Regions from separate parts of the Homo sapiens genome. Here region 1 is linked to region 2. The links are contacts of gene promoters, found by promoter capture Hi-C in blood cells and fetal thymus (Javierre and others, 2016). All regions are on one chromosome and are shown on one strand. Each heading gives the region's core, a stretch centred on a gene start or on the middle of the fragment in contact. The rest is flanking DNA. Distances are from core to core; before and after follow the strand shown.

Region 1 (6,871 bases), core at 2,985-5,484, 430 kb before region 2:
TTTTAGAGATGGGATCTCACTATGATGCCCAGGCTGGTCTTTTTTTTTTTTTCTTTTTTTTTGACATGGAGTCTCGCTTTGTTGCCCAGACTGGAGTGCAGTGACATGATCTCGGCTCACTGCAGCCTCTGCTTCCTGGGTTCAATTGATTCTCCTGCCTCAGCTTCCCAACTAGTTGGGACTACAGGCATGAGCCACCATGCCCAGCTAATTTTTGTATTTTTAGTAGAGATGAGGTTTCACCATGTTGGCCAGGCTGGTCTTGAACTCCTGGCCTCAAATGATCCTCCTGCCTCTGCCTCACAAAGCACTGGATTACGGGCATGAGCCACCGTGCCTGGCTTTGCAGAGGCTTTCTTAACCTGTTCCTTGGGTATTGAGTCCCTCTCTGGTTTGCCTGAACTCCAAAGGGGCTGGGAGATCTAGGATATGGTTGATCTGAGAGATGATCTCAGTAAGCATGGGTAGGGGAGAAGGAGAGTGAGGAAGGGAAGGGCAGGTAGCCAATGAAGGGTGTTTATGAGCCAGTTTCCACTGTGGGCAACTCAATTATGCTGGAGAATGCTGAAATCAAATAGAGCACACTCTTCAGAGGGTGCCCACCTAGGGGCGAGGGAGCTGGGATATTTATCCACCAACTCCCATCAGCCATTGCTCAAGGTCTGCTCCAGGAGAGTGTTTGTTCTCCATACTTTCCACCCACTCAGCAGCCAGAGCCACTTCTCGGGAGCTGGTTCTTAGAAGCTGTGGGGTCAGCGTGCCCAGGAGTGCGTGGGGGACATGAGTGGGTGTTGACATTCTGGGGAGGGGGAGACAGAGGATAAAAAGAACAAATAAAGCATAGAGCATGTTCAAAAGGGGCCGGGCGCAGTGGCTCACACCTGTAATCCCAGCAATTTGGGAGGCCAAGACAGGCGGATCACTTGGGATCAGGAGTTTGAGACCAGCCTGGCCAACCTGGTGAAACTCCCTCTCTACTAAAAAAAAATACAAAAATTAGCCAGGTGGTGGTGTGCACCTGTAATCCCAGCTACTCAGGAGGCTGAGGTGGGAGAATCGATTGAATCCGGGAGGCGGAGGTTGCAGTGAGCCGAGATCACGCACCTGCACCCCAGCCTGGGCGACAGAGTAAGACCCTGTCTCAACAAAACAAAACAAAACAAAACAAAACAAAAACAAAAAGGGGTAAGTGTTGGGGACAAAAAGAAAATTAGACCAGCCCAAGATAAGGCGAAGAGGCTGTGGGGGAAGGTTCCTAGCATCCAACTTGGCACCCAGTAGGCGACAATAAATGTTCTGTTGCTTCTCTCTGGTCCATGGGGTGAAGGAGAGAGAGAGAGAGAATGCCCTGGTGTAGTGGGAGCCTGGGCAGGGGAGGAGGAAAGTGGGGAGGGAGCCAGTGTTAATGATGCTGAAAAGTAATCGGCCCTTCTCTCTGGGAGGCGGTGAAACTCTAATTAGAATGAAAATGTAGTTTAATGAGGATGAAAACGGTAATTGTGCCAGGCAGCGCAGTTCAGAAGTGTCGCTTTCCCTTGGGGCACCTTGCTGGCCTCTGAGGCTCTGGGCATGGGTGAGAAGGACTCAGGGCTGGGAAGGCAGGGGATTGTCAGTGCCTCAGTTTCCCCCCAAAGTGTCCTCCCGCTGGCATGGGGTAAAGAGCCTGTGTAGAGCCCCACGTGCCCCTGGGGCTGGTTCCAGGTGCCCAGAGCAACGTTTTTCCATCCCACACTTTATTCCTATTAATAATACAACCATCCGTGGAACCATATCAGTGATGCCATTTATTGAGTGCCTACTATGTGCCAGGTACCATTCTAACCCCTTCACAGATGCTAACTCAGGTAATCCTTAAAATTATCCTCATTTTACAGATGGGAACACTGAGGCACAGATAAACCATTGACCCTGGTAGGGATATTTTAAAGAGCGGGTGAGGGCCGGGCGTGGTGGCTCACACCTGTAATCCCAGCACTTTGGGAGGCTGAGGCGGGCGGACCACTTGAGGTCAGGAGTTCAAGACTAGCCTGAAAAACATGGCAAAACCCCATCTCTACTAAAAATACAAAAATTAGCCGGAGGTAGTGGTGCGTGTTTGTAGTCCCAGCTACTTGGGAGGCTGAGGCAGGAGAATAGCTTGAACTCAGGAGGCGGAGGTTGCAGTGAGCCGAGATGGTGCCACTGTACTCCAGCCTGGATGACAGAGAAGGACTCCGTCTCAAAAAAAAAAAAAAAAAAAAGAGTGGGTGAGGAGAAAGGTGGAATACAGTAGCCAGGTGCCTCCTTCTTTCTTTTTTTTATTTTCTTTTTCTTTTTTCTTTTCTTTTCTTTTCTTTTTTTTTTTTTTTTTTTGAGACAGTCTTGCTTTGTTGCCCAGGCTGGAGTGAAGTGGTGTGATCTCGGCTCACTGCAACCTTCGCCTGCTGAGTTCAAGCGATTCTCGTGCCTCAGCCTCTTGAGTAGCTGGGATTACAGGCATACACGACCACACCGGCTGATTTTTGTATTTTTAGTAGAGATGGGGTTTTGCCATGTTGATCAGGCTGGTCTTGAACTCCTGGCCTCAAGTTCAAGATTTGCCTGCCTCGGCCTCCCAAAGTGCTGGGATTACAGGAGTGAGTCATTGCGCCCAGCTATCCTTTCTTTAACCAGGTGGGTGCTAGGGGCATGAAGGAATTGCCAGCCATCGAGGCCAGGGGATCTTCTCCCTCCTCCTCCCCCTGGCCCAGGATCCTCACTATTTCGGTTCTTCACTTCTTTTTAATGCTCTAATCACGCCTCTCTCTTTAATGCTCTAATCACACCTCTCCACTCGAAGGTGGGCGTGGCTAGACGATTGGTGGGCGTAGCTAGATGAGAGGGCGTGGTTTATGTACAGTGGGCATGGTTTGATACACAGTGGGCGTGGCTAGAAGCGCATTCTGCGTGGCAGAATTTACCAACCCATCTTAACTTGGAGGAATCAGAAACTGGAGCCATAGCAGTAAACTACAGAACCCAGACACAAAGCCGTGGCTTCTGGCCCCAGGGCCTGAGCTTTCTTGCCATGGAAAGCTGAAGGGTTCTTCAAGTGTTCTGGGTAAGACTGAGGTTCATAAGATCTCAAAGTCTCTGCTTTTGTTTCTGGAGGAACCGCCAATAAAATGCAACCTGCAATGAGGCCTAGACAGAAGAGAAATGTTCATTGAGGCCAGTTGGGCAATAAAAGGAGATCTAGCTGGAGTCCCAGATCAGAGGAGATAGCCAGCCTGGGCAACATAGTGAGACCCCATCCCTACAAAAATAATTTTTAAAAATTTATCTGGGCATGGTGGCACACACCTGTGGTCCCAGCTACTCAGGAGGCTGAGGCAGGAGGATGGCTTGAGCCCAGGAGGTTGATGCTGCAGTGATTGCGGTGAGCTATTATGGTGCCACTGCATTCCAGCCTGGGCAACGGAGTGAGGCTCTATCTCAAGAAAAAAAAGGAAAAGAAAAGATCAAGGGAGATTAGATTGTTTGCCACGTATATGGCAGACAAATCATTAAGAGCCTTAATATACAAAAAGCACATATGAATCAATAAGAAAAAAAAGACAAACATCCCAAATGTGAAATTGGCACAGGGCTTGAATAGGGGGTTCACAAAGGAGTGAGAGCTTAACAAACCTCTGTAAAGATGCTCAATCTGACCGTTCAGCTGAAGAATCACTTTTCCTTGTCAAGCTTATGAGTGTGTGTGAAGTTTTGGGAATGCACACTTGAGCACGGTCATGGGAGTTTAAATTGACACAACTTTTTTTTTTTTAATTTTTTGAGACAGGGTCTCACTATGTCACCCATGCTGGAGTGCAGTGGCACAATCACGGCTCACTGCAGCCTCAACCTCCTAGGCTTAAGGAATCCTCCCACCTCAGCCTGCCAAATAGCTGACTACAGGTACAGGTCACCACACCCAGCTAATTTTTTAAAAACTTTTTGTAACATGGGGTCTCACGACTTGCCCAGGCTGGTCTCAAACTCCTGATCTCAAGTGATCCTCCCTCCTCGGCCACCCAAAGTGCTAGGATTACAGATGTCAGCCACCGCACCCGGCCACGATACAACTTTCTTGGGATGGTGTTCTAGATATTAGTATTAAACCTTTAAGCATGTGGATTCTCTGACCCAGCAAATCCACCTCTAGGAATTTATGTCAGGGATATAATCAGTCAAATAGGTGGAGAACTATAAAGAATAGGCTGGGCACGGTGGCTCACGCCTGTAATCCCAGCACTTTGGGAGGCTGAGGCGGGCAGATCACCTGAGGTCAGGAGTTCGAGACCAGGTTGGCCAACATGGTGAAACGCCGTCTCTACTAAAAATACAAAAATCAGCCGGGCGTGGTGGCAGGCGCCTGTAATCCCAGCTACTCGGGAGGCTGAGGCAGGAGAATTGCTTGAACCTGGGAGGCAGAGGTTGCAGTGAGCCGATATTGTACCATTGCACTCCAGCCTGGGGGACAAGAGCAAGACTTCGTCTCAAAAAAAGAAAAGAAAAGAAAAGAATAACTAACACAGGGTGGTTAAGAGCTCTGGAATCAGACAGCCAGGGTTCGAATTCTGGCTTCACCACCTTCAAGCTGTGTGACCTAAGTCATATGGTTTATTGTTACGGTTCCCAGATTTTCTCATCAGTAAAATGGGCCTCTCATGAGGACTCCATGAGGCAAAGTGTGTGAAATGCTTAGCCTTCTGCCAGGCACATAGAGGATGCTTGCTGTTACCATCATTAAGAAAAGCTTTAAAAGAGGCTGGAAACAATGGAGGTACCTGGGCTCTGGGGATTGGCTACATGCATAGTAGAAAATGAAAGTGGGCTGGGCATGGTGGCTCATGCCTGTAATCCCAGCACTTTGGGAGGCCCAGGTGGGAGGATCGCCTGAGCCCAGGAGTTCAAGACTAGCCTGGGCAACATAGCCAGATCCCAACTCTACAAAAACTAAAAAATTAGCCAGGCATGGTGGCACATGTCTGTACTTCCAGCTACTTGGGAGGCTGAGGGGGGAGGATTGCTTGAGCCCAAGGAGGTGGAGGCTGCAGTGAGCGCATATCGCACCACTGCACTCCAACCTGGGTGACAGAATGAGAACCTGTCTCAACAAAGAAAAGGAAATTAAAAGCTGGGTGTGGTGGCTGACACCTGTAATCTCAGCACTTTGGGAGGCTGAGGTGGGCGGATCACTTGAGGTCACGAGTTCGAGACCAGCCTGGCCAACTTGGTGAAACCCTGTCTCTACTAATAATACAAAAATTAGCTGGATGTGTTGGTGGGTGCCTGTAATCCCAGCTACTTGGGAGGTGAGGCAGGAGAATCGCTTGAACCCAGGAGGTGAAAGTTGCAGTGAGCCGAGATCTCGCCACTGCACTCCAGCCTGGGTGATAAGGTGGCTCAGTCTCAAAAAAAAGAAAAGAAAATTCAAGTGCTAAAACTTATATTCATTGACACAGCGTGACCTCTGTGATATATTAATTAAAAAAAAAAGAAAACCAATTTCAAACATCATATATAACCACATCTTTCAAGCACTTTGATCACAAATCAAAGAATTAATTTTTTACATTGCAACGTAGGCCTTCTACCCAGGTTTGGAACTAAAACAAAAGTTTCAGGAAGTCATAGTCATATTTCTACTGTGCAGTGGGTTCTGATATTTTCTAGTCTCTTTTGTTCCATTTTAAAAGGCTGGTCGTTTTTGCAATTACAGTATTTTTCTCTTTAAGGTTCTGGTTAATGTAACCCTGTAACCCAGACTCCCAGTAAAAAGGGTGTCTAGATAGTGACTAAGGAAAGGATGAAGGAAGACAGGGAAAGTGGTATTTCCAATCCACTAGGCTTGAATTTTTTTTTTTTTTTTTTTTTTTTGAGACGGAGTTTCGCTTTTGTAGCCCAGGCTGGAGTGCAATGGCACGATCTTGGCTCACTGCAAGCTCCGCCTCCCAGGTTCAAGCAATTCTCCTGCCTCAGCCTCCCGAGTGGCTGGGATTACAGGCGCCCGCCACCACACCCGGCTAAGAGTGTGTGTGTGTGTGTGTGTGTGTGTGTGTGTGTGTTTAGTAGAGACGGGGTTTCACCATGTTGGCCGGGCTGGTCACAAACTCCTGGGGTTACAGGCGTGAGTCACCGCACCTAGCCTCTTTTTTTTTTTTTTTTTTTTTTTTTGAGACGGAGTCTTGCTCTGTCGCCCAGGTTGGAGTGCAGTGGCGCGATCTCGGCTCACTGCAAGCTCCGCCTCCTGGGTTGACGCCATTCTCCTGCCTCAGCCTCCTGAGTAGCTGGGACTACAGGCGCCCGCCACCACGCCTGGCTAATTTTTTGTATTTTTAGTAGAGACGGGTTTTCACCGTGTTAGCCAGGATGGTCTCAATCTCCTGACCTTGTGATCTGCCGGTCTTGGCCTCCCAAAGTGCTGGGATTACAGGCGTGAGCCACCGCGCCCAGCCTTTTTTTTTTTTTTTTTTTTTTTTTTTTTTTTTTAATATAGTGATGCGGTCTTACCATGTTGTCCAGGCTGTTCTCAAGCTCCTGGGCTCAAGCGATCCTCCTGTCTTGCCATCCCAAAGTGCTGGGTTTGCAGGCCTGAGCAACTGCGCCTGGCAGTGGTAACTCTTGAATGGGGGAAAAGTGGGCACAGACAAGCCCCACGATGGTCCAGCCTCCAAAGCGCAGCCGCCTGGGTCTTCCCCTCCAGCCTCCGGGACAAGGGGAATCTCAGTGGCTGAAACTTCTGGGGATGGAGGAGGAGCGGCATCCGGGGAGGGTGAGCCGAGCCCGGCGTGCGGCTCCGGAGGAGGCTCCGCCCGGCTCGGGTCCCCTCCCAGGGGCTGGGCTGGCGGGAAGGGCCCGGGCTGCC
Region 2 (6,834 bases), core at 3,238-5,737:
CTGTCCACCTTGGCCTCCCAGAGTGCTGGGATTACATGCATGAGCCAATGTGCCTGGCTGACATGAGCTTATTGTGTGTGAGGGGGCCCTGGGTGAAATACTTATGGACTCCAGATTAACTCCTATAACATGGTTATTATTCCAGTTTTACAGATGGTGAAACTGAGGCCAAAGCACATGATGTGACTCATCAAGTCACATAACCAGTAAGTGGCAGAGCTCGGATTCCAACTCTCAGTCTCGGTCCAGACTTGATCTTTTTTTTTTTTTTTTTTTTTTTGAGACGGAGTCTTGCTCTGTCGCCCAGGCTGTAGCGCAGTGGTGCGATCTCGGCTCACTGCAAGCTCCGCCTCCCTGGTTCACGCCATTCTTCTGCCTCAGCCTCCTGAGTAGCTGGGACTACAGGCGCCCGCCACCACGCCCGGCTAATTTTTTTTTTTTTTTTGTATTTTTAGTAGAGACAGAGTTTCACCGTGTTAGCCGGGATGGTCTCAATCTCCTGACCTCATGATCTGCCTGCCTCGGCCTCCCAAAGTGCTGGGATTACAGGCGTGAGCCACCGTGCCCGGCCTCAGAGTCGATCTTGACTCTCTTACCCAGATCATTGGCTCCAGGAGAACAGGGGTCTTCTCTGTCTTCTTTCCCCTACCTACCCAGTGCCCCCAGTTCTGCGCCCGAACCACTTGCAGGAGATCAGAAAATGTTCTGAGGGTGTGTTAACCATCTCACCTTTGCCTTTGAGCTTCTCCAGGGCTGGGGGCTGGCCCCCGACCAAAGCCAAGAACTCAGCCTCCAGTTCTTCATCGTTAGCCCCGTCCTCAGGGATCATCAGGCCATCTGGGGAGAGGTCAACCAGCAGGCCCAGCTAGGGGAACAGCAAGGGTTCAGTCAGACCTTTGGTTCACCACATGGCTAGAGGCAGCCATGATGGCCAGAGAGTCCCCTTGGGAGGAAGGAAACAAGGTCTCCCAGGGAAAGCCATTTCCCTGGGGAGTGCCAGGAGGCTGGAACAAGCCCAGAACAGGTGTTCCAAGATAGGCCAGGCCCTCTGGCACAGTTCAACCTGGGGCAAAGGGCAAGAGACCCAGCTCTCTGATCTGAATCCACACTTATGATGTGCTGCTGGGCCAAGTTCAGTGGGAAAAGCAGGCCCCTGGCTGGGCGCAGTGGCTCACGCCTGTCATCCCAGCACTTTGGGAGGCCAAGGCAAGAGGATGGCTTGTGTCTGGGAGTTCCAGACCAGCCTGGGCAATACAGTGAGACCCCCAACTCTACAAAAAAAAAAAAAGTTTTTTGTTTTTTGTTTTTTTTTGACACAGAGTCTCGCTCTGTCACCCAGGCTGGAGTGCAGTGGTGCAGTCTCAGCTCACTGCAACCTCCGCCTCCGGGGTTCATGCCATTCTCCTGCCTCAACATCCCGAGTAGCTGGGACTACAGGCGCCCGCCACCACGCCCGGCTAATTTTTTTTTTGTATTTTTAGCAGAGACGGGGTTTCACCTTGTTAGCCAGGATGGTCTCGATCTCCTGACCTCATGATCTGCCCGCCTCGGCCTCCCAAAGTGCTGGGATTACAGGAAAAAAAACTTTTTAAAATTAGCTGGGAGTTGTGCTGTGTGCCTGTGGTCCCAGCTACTCGGGAGGCTGAGGCAGGAGGATCACTTGAGCCTGGGGAGATCAAGGCTGCAGTGAGCCATGACTGTGCTACGGCACTCCGCCTGGGCAACAGAGTAAAGCCCTGTTGAAAGGAAAGAAAGAAAGAGAGATGGAGCCGGGGAGGGAGAGAGGGAGGGAGGAAGGAGGGAAGGAAGGAAAAAAAGAAGGAAGCGAGGGAGGGAGGGAAGGAGGGAAGGAAGCAGGCTCCACACTTTGCCCAAAGCAAAGCTACTCTGTACACTTGGGCTTTTCTTTCCAGCATCCTCAGCAGAGGGGCTGTGTGGGAAGGTTGGGCTTCAAGAGCATGATGGCTGCATGCGGTGGCTCACGCCTGTAATCCAGGAGTTCGAGACCAGCCTAGCCAACATGGTGAAACCCCGTCTCTACTAAAAATACAAAAATTAGCTGGGAGTGCTGGCGGTGTCTGCAATCCCAGCTACTCGGGAGGCTGAGGCAGGAGAATTGCTTGAACCTGGGAGGTGGAGGTTGCAGTGAGCTGAGATTGCGCCACCAAACTCCAGCCTGGGCAACAGAGCAAGACTCTGTCTCCAAAAAAAAAAGAAGAGCAATTAGAAGCCCTGACGACAGGGCCAGGTGCAGTGGCTCACGCTTGTAATCCCAGCACTTTGGGAGACCAAGGTGGGGGGATCACCTGAGGTCAGCAGTTCGAGACTAGCCTGGCCAACATGGTGAAATCCCATCACTACTAAAAATACAAAAATTAGGCCGGGCACGGTGGCTCACGCCTGTAACCCCAGCACTTTGGGAGGCCGAGGCAGGCGGGTCACCTGAGATGGGGAGTTCGAGACAGACCAGCCTGACCAACAGGGAGAAACCCCGTCTCTACTAAAAAATACAAAATTAACCAGGCATGGTGGCGCATGCCTGTAATCCCAGCTACTCGGGAGGCTGAGGCAGGAGAATCGCTTGAACCCGGGAAGCGGAGGTTGCAGTGGGCCGAGATTGCGCCACTGCACTCCAGCCTGGGGCGAGAGAGCAAGACTCTGTCTCAAAAACAAACAAACAAAAAAAGAACCCCTAACCACAATGCAGGTTTGCCATGCAGACCCGTCTTCCTATCTTGGCTAATGACCAATCATGATGTGATAACATCGTGTTTAACCATATGAAATTGCCTTTCCTGTAGGTAAAAAATGGCCAAATATTGGCAATTATGTATGGTTCCACCAACTAGTAATAATGATAATAGTAACATTTATTGAGTGCTATGTTCTAGCACTTTCCATAAACTATCTCAATGACTCTCTACAACTGTCCTGTAATGTAGGGTCTCTTGGAGGTCTCCATTTTTAATTTTTTATTTATTTATTTATTTTCAGAAGGAATTTATTTATTTATTTTGAGAAGGAGCCTTGCTCTGTCACCCAGTCTGGAATGCAGTGGCGCGATCTCAGCTCACTGCAACCTCCGCCTCTCGGTTCAAGCGATTCTCCCACCTCAGCCTCCCGAGTAGCTGGGATTACAGGTGCCCGCCACCATGCCCAGCTAATTTTTGTATTTTTAGTAGAGATGGGGTTTCGCCATGGCCTCCCAAAGTGCTGGGATTACAGGTGTGAGACACCACCCCGGACTTCCATTTTTAATTTTTTATCTTTATTTTAGAGAAAGAGTCTTGTTCTGTCACCCAGGCTGGAGCAGAAGTAGCGCAATCATAGCTCACTGCGGTCTTGAACTCCTGGGCTCAAGCAATCCTCCCTTCTTAGCCTCCCAAGTAGTAGTACTACAGGCACATGCCACCATGCCCAGTTAGTCTTTTTTTGTCGAGACGGGGGTCTTGCTTTTGCCCAGGCTGGTCTCAAACTCTGGCCTCAAATGACTCTCCCACCTCTGCCTCCGCCTCCATCTCCTGAAGTGCTGGGATTATAGAGATCTCCATTTTACAGATGAGAAAGCTGAGGCTCAGAGCTGTAAAGTCAAGTGTCCGATGTACAGAGGCCAGGAGGGAACTTCAGGTCAGCCAGACTCTAATATCTGAACACCAAGCTATGTCCTGGGCTCCTTCCATCAAAACTGAGAAAAATCAAACTATCTGGTGCCTGGGGCAAAGAAGTCGGGAGAGTGAGAAGGGGTCCAGCCACAGTGCCATAAGCTTATGGCTGCAGCCCTGGATTTGTGCTTAGCCCTGGCCAAGCTGTTAATCCCTATGACCTTGGGCAGATGTCTTCACGTCTCTGAGTCTCAAAGTCCTCATCTGTACAATGGAATAAAAAGAGTCTGACATGGCCCGACTGATGCAAGGGTTTGATGTGTCAAGTCCGAGGACTGCCCCTCCTCGACTGGAGCAGCTGTGGCAACAGGTGGCCCCGAACCCGGGGCAGGGCCCCAGGAGCTGGGGAGCCAAGGCCAGTAGGCCACACTTGGGTGGTGTTGGAGCCTCACCTGGGGGGAGGCGGGGACCGGGGCTTACCTGTGGGGCGGAGATCGGGCTTCCCTGGGGGGTGGGGCCCTTCCCTGAGCGAGTGACGGGGGTGGGGAGGGATCCCCAGGTCGGGCCGTGGGGCGCAAACTCACCTGGCGGGCGGCCGCGGCGCCTCTGCCCGGGGGTCCCGGGGGTCCTTTCCTCTTGTGCATCTTCAAGGCTGGATGCCCGGACCACCTGCCCCCAAGCCCGGCCTTGCCCTGCCTCCTTCCCCGGGCTCTGTCGCCGCGCACTCGCCCTTCCTGAGTCCTGCACTCCTCGTCGGCGCCCCGCGGCCGTCGATCCCGAGCCCTCGCTTCCCTGCTTGGCCGTCCCACTTCCGCCTCGGGCCTCGGGCGCCGCCGCACCGGAGCGCGGCCACTGGGCTCGCCGGGTCTGCCGAGCCGAAACTACAACTCCCGGCAGGTAGTGCGTGGGCGCGCAGGCGCCTGGCTGGGGCGGTGCTGACTGTCGCGGGCTGCGAGGGCGGTGTTTGCGTCGCTCATGCGCGGGGCGGGACCTCGCGGGGCGCGGGAAAGAGGCAGAGCGCGCGCAGGTGTGAGGGGCGGCGACATCTGTGGGGTTCAGAGCGTCTGTCAGTCACCGACGGGCTCCGGCTTCACGTGGGCTCTCGGCCTGTGGAGTCCTCACTTCTCGGTGGTCGGCGTAGTGTCAGTGTGGGGCTTGTCACCGGGAGCGGGGTCTACAGCGCCCACCCTCAGGCCTTTCCATCTTTCACCTCCGGACTCGAGGCCTCCAGCGTTCTGTGAGGGCCAATTTGGCCATTTATTTTTTCCAAAAAGAGTAACGCGGATAATTCAAGCGACTTATTCCCAACTGATCCAGGCAGAGCTCGTTTCTGATAAGGACAGAGGGTCCTCAACGACTTCTGTGGCCCAGGTCCGTTCTGGTTTGCCTCGCCCCCAAGGCTGGGAGAAACCGGCCTATGGCAGCTCTTTCCCCTCCAAGGACCCAGCTGTCCCCTTTAAAGTGGCACGATCTTGGCTCATTGCAACCTCTGCCTCCTGGCCTTGTACCACAGCCTCCTGAGTAGCTGGGATTACGGGTGTGTGCCACCGCACCTGACTAATTTTTTTTTTTTTTTTTGAGACGGAGTCTCGCTCTGTCGCCCAGGCTGGAGTGCAGTAGAGCGATCTCGGCTCACTGCAACCTCTGCCTCATGGGTTCAAGGAATTCTACTGTCTCAGCCTCCCAAGTAGCTGGGATTACAGGTGTGCGTCACGATGCCCAGGCTAATTTTTGTGTTTTTAATAGAGAGGGGGTTTCACCATATTGGCCAGGCTGGTCTCCAGAGGCCCCTGGAGAGTCCTCAAGTGTCCTTGGAAGGGCCCCCAGATACCCCAGTCTGGAGGGAGGGGCTTCACACAGGCTGTTTCATCCTAGGGACCAGAGTCTGGGTCCCCGGGGCTATCTATAAGGACCCCCCAGGGCCCATTTGTCTTTCAGGTCCTGGGCATAAGATCTTCAGTTTGGAGGAGGTTTGAATTCCTACCTGGCCATGGCCCAAAGTGGCTGTGACTCTGTGTCCCATCCTGTGTCCCAGTGGGAGCCATCTGACCCCTGGGGCAGCCAAATGGGCTGAGGTGGAGGTAGGGGTAACCTCTGCTCTCAGCCAAAGCCACTGGATATAAACAGAGACAGAGACTGCTTATAATGATGAGAGATTTTGCTTGTTTTCAGATTTCTCAAGGGGAAGATAAAATGACTAAGAGGAAGAAGCTGCGGACCTCAGGTACGTTCATTCAAATGGACACTTGTTGATTTCTGCTTCTGCTTGTGGGAAGAATGTGGGCTTGTTTATTGCAGATCTGGCTAACACGACTGCCTTAACCTCCTTAAAAGGAAGCAAGGATTGGCCGGGTGCGGTGGCTCACACCTGTAATCTCAGCACTTTGGGAGGCCGAGGCGGGCAGATCACAAGGTCAGGAGTTCAAGACCAGCCTGACCAACATGGTGAAACCCCGTCTCTACTAAAAATACAAAAATTAGCCAGGTGTTGTGGCACATGCCTGTAGTCCCACCTACTCGGGAGACTGAGGCAGGAGAATCGTTTGAACCTGGGAGTCCGATGTTGCAGTGAGCCAAGATGGTGCCACTGCACTCTAGCCTGGGCAACAGAGCAAGACTCTGTCTCAAAAAAAAGAAAAAGACAAAAAGGATTTAATTCATGCTGGTAAGAAAAATAGAAGGCCGGTGTGGTGGCTCACGCCTGTAATCCTAGCACTTTGGGAGGCCGAGGTGGGCGGATCGCTTGAGTCCAGGAGTTCAAGACCAGCCTGGGCAACATAGCGAGATCCTGTCTCTACAATGTAAAGTAAGGAAATTAGCTGGGCGTGGTGGCAGGCACCTGTAGTCCCAGCTACTCAGGAGGTTGAGGCAGGAAGATTGCTTGAACTGGGAGGTGGAGGTTGCAGTGAATCCAGATCGTACCACTGCACTCCATCCTGACTGATAGATTGAGGCCCTGTCTCAAAAAAAAAAAGAAAGAAAGAAAAATAGAAATAACGGAGAGGGCATACAGGAAAAGTAAAAGTGAAAGTTTTCTGGAGCTTCTGCAAGCCTCTGGTGGGGTCCCACAGCTTAGAGGAGGCCTCCCCGGGCTTCAGGGCAGCGGGACAGCCTCCCTGCGGAACCAGTCCCAGAGATGACCCCTGGAATAATGCTTGATGTACTACAAGGCCACTCGGTATGTGGCTGAGTGTTTTACTCTGGGGCCCAAAACCTGGGTTCATCCCAGTTC

Evidence for each region. Contacts are between HindIII fragments. The CHiCAGO score rates a contact against its expected background, and 5 or more counts as called.
Region 1: a fragment that was not itself captured here is called in contact with the fragment with the promoter of CC2D1A in region 2 in 4 of 17 cell types (naive CD8 T cells, monocytes, total CD8 T cells and 1 more); the score reaches 6.2 in naive CD8 T cells.

The regions. Positions count from the first base shown.
Region 1 is chr19:14,333,665-14,340,535 of GRCh38, reverse strand. The region is part of intron 1 of LINC01841 (long intergenic non-protein coding RNA 1841); the gene reads left to right. LINC01842 (long intergenic non-protein coding RNA 1842) reads right to left here and starts at 6,793. Exons shown (of 2, transcript NR_134916.1): 1 at 6,517-6,793. RefSeq lists enhancers at 1,055-1,555, 1,556-2,056, 6,096-6,771 and a silencer at 2,753-2,953. The HindIII fragment of the contact is 1,054 bases long and covers 3,708-4,761 here.
Region 2 is chr19:13,903,854-13,910,687 of GRCh38, reverse strand. CC2D1A (coiled-coil and C2 domain containing 1A) reads right to left here and starts at 4,487. Exons shown (of 29, transcript NM_017721.5): 1 at 4,187-4,487; 2 at 730-865. The coding sequence starts at 4,246. It overlaps BRME1 (break repair meiotic recombinase recruitment factor 1), which reads left to right and starts at 4,571. Exons shown (of 9, transcript NM_001345843.2): 1 at 4,571-4,973; 2 at 5,775-5,826. The coding sequence starts at 5,796. RefSeq lists a silencer at 4,113-4,172. The HindIII fragment of the contact is 3,878 bases long and covers 3,767-6,834 here.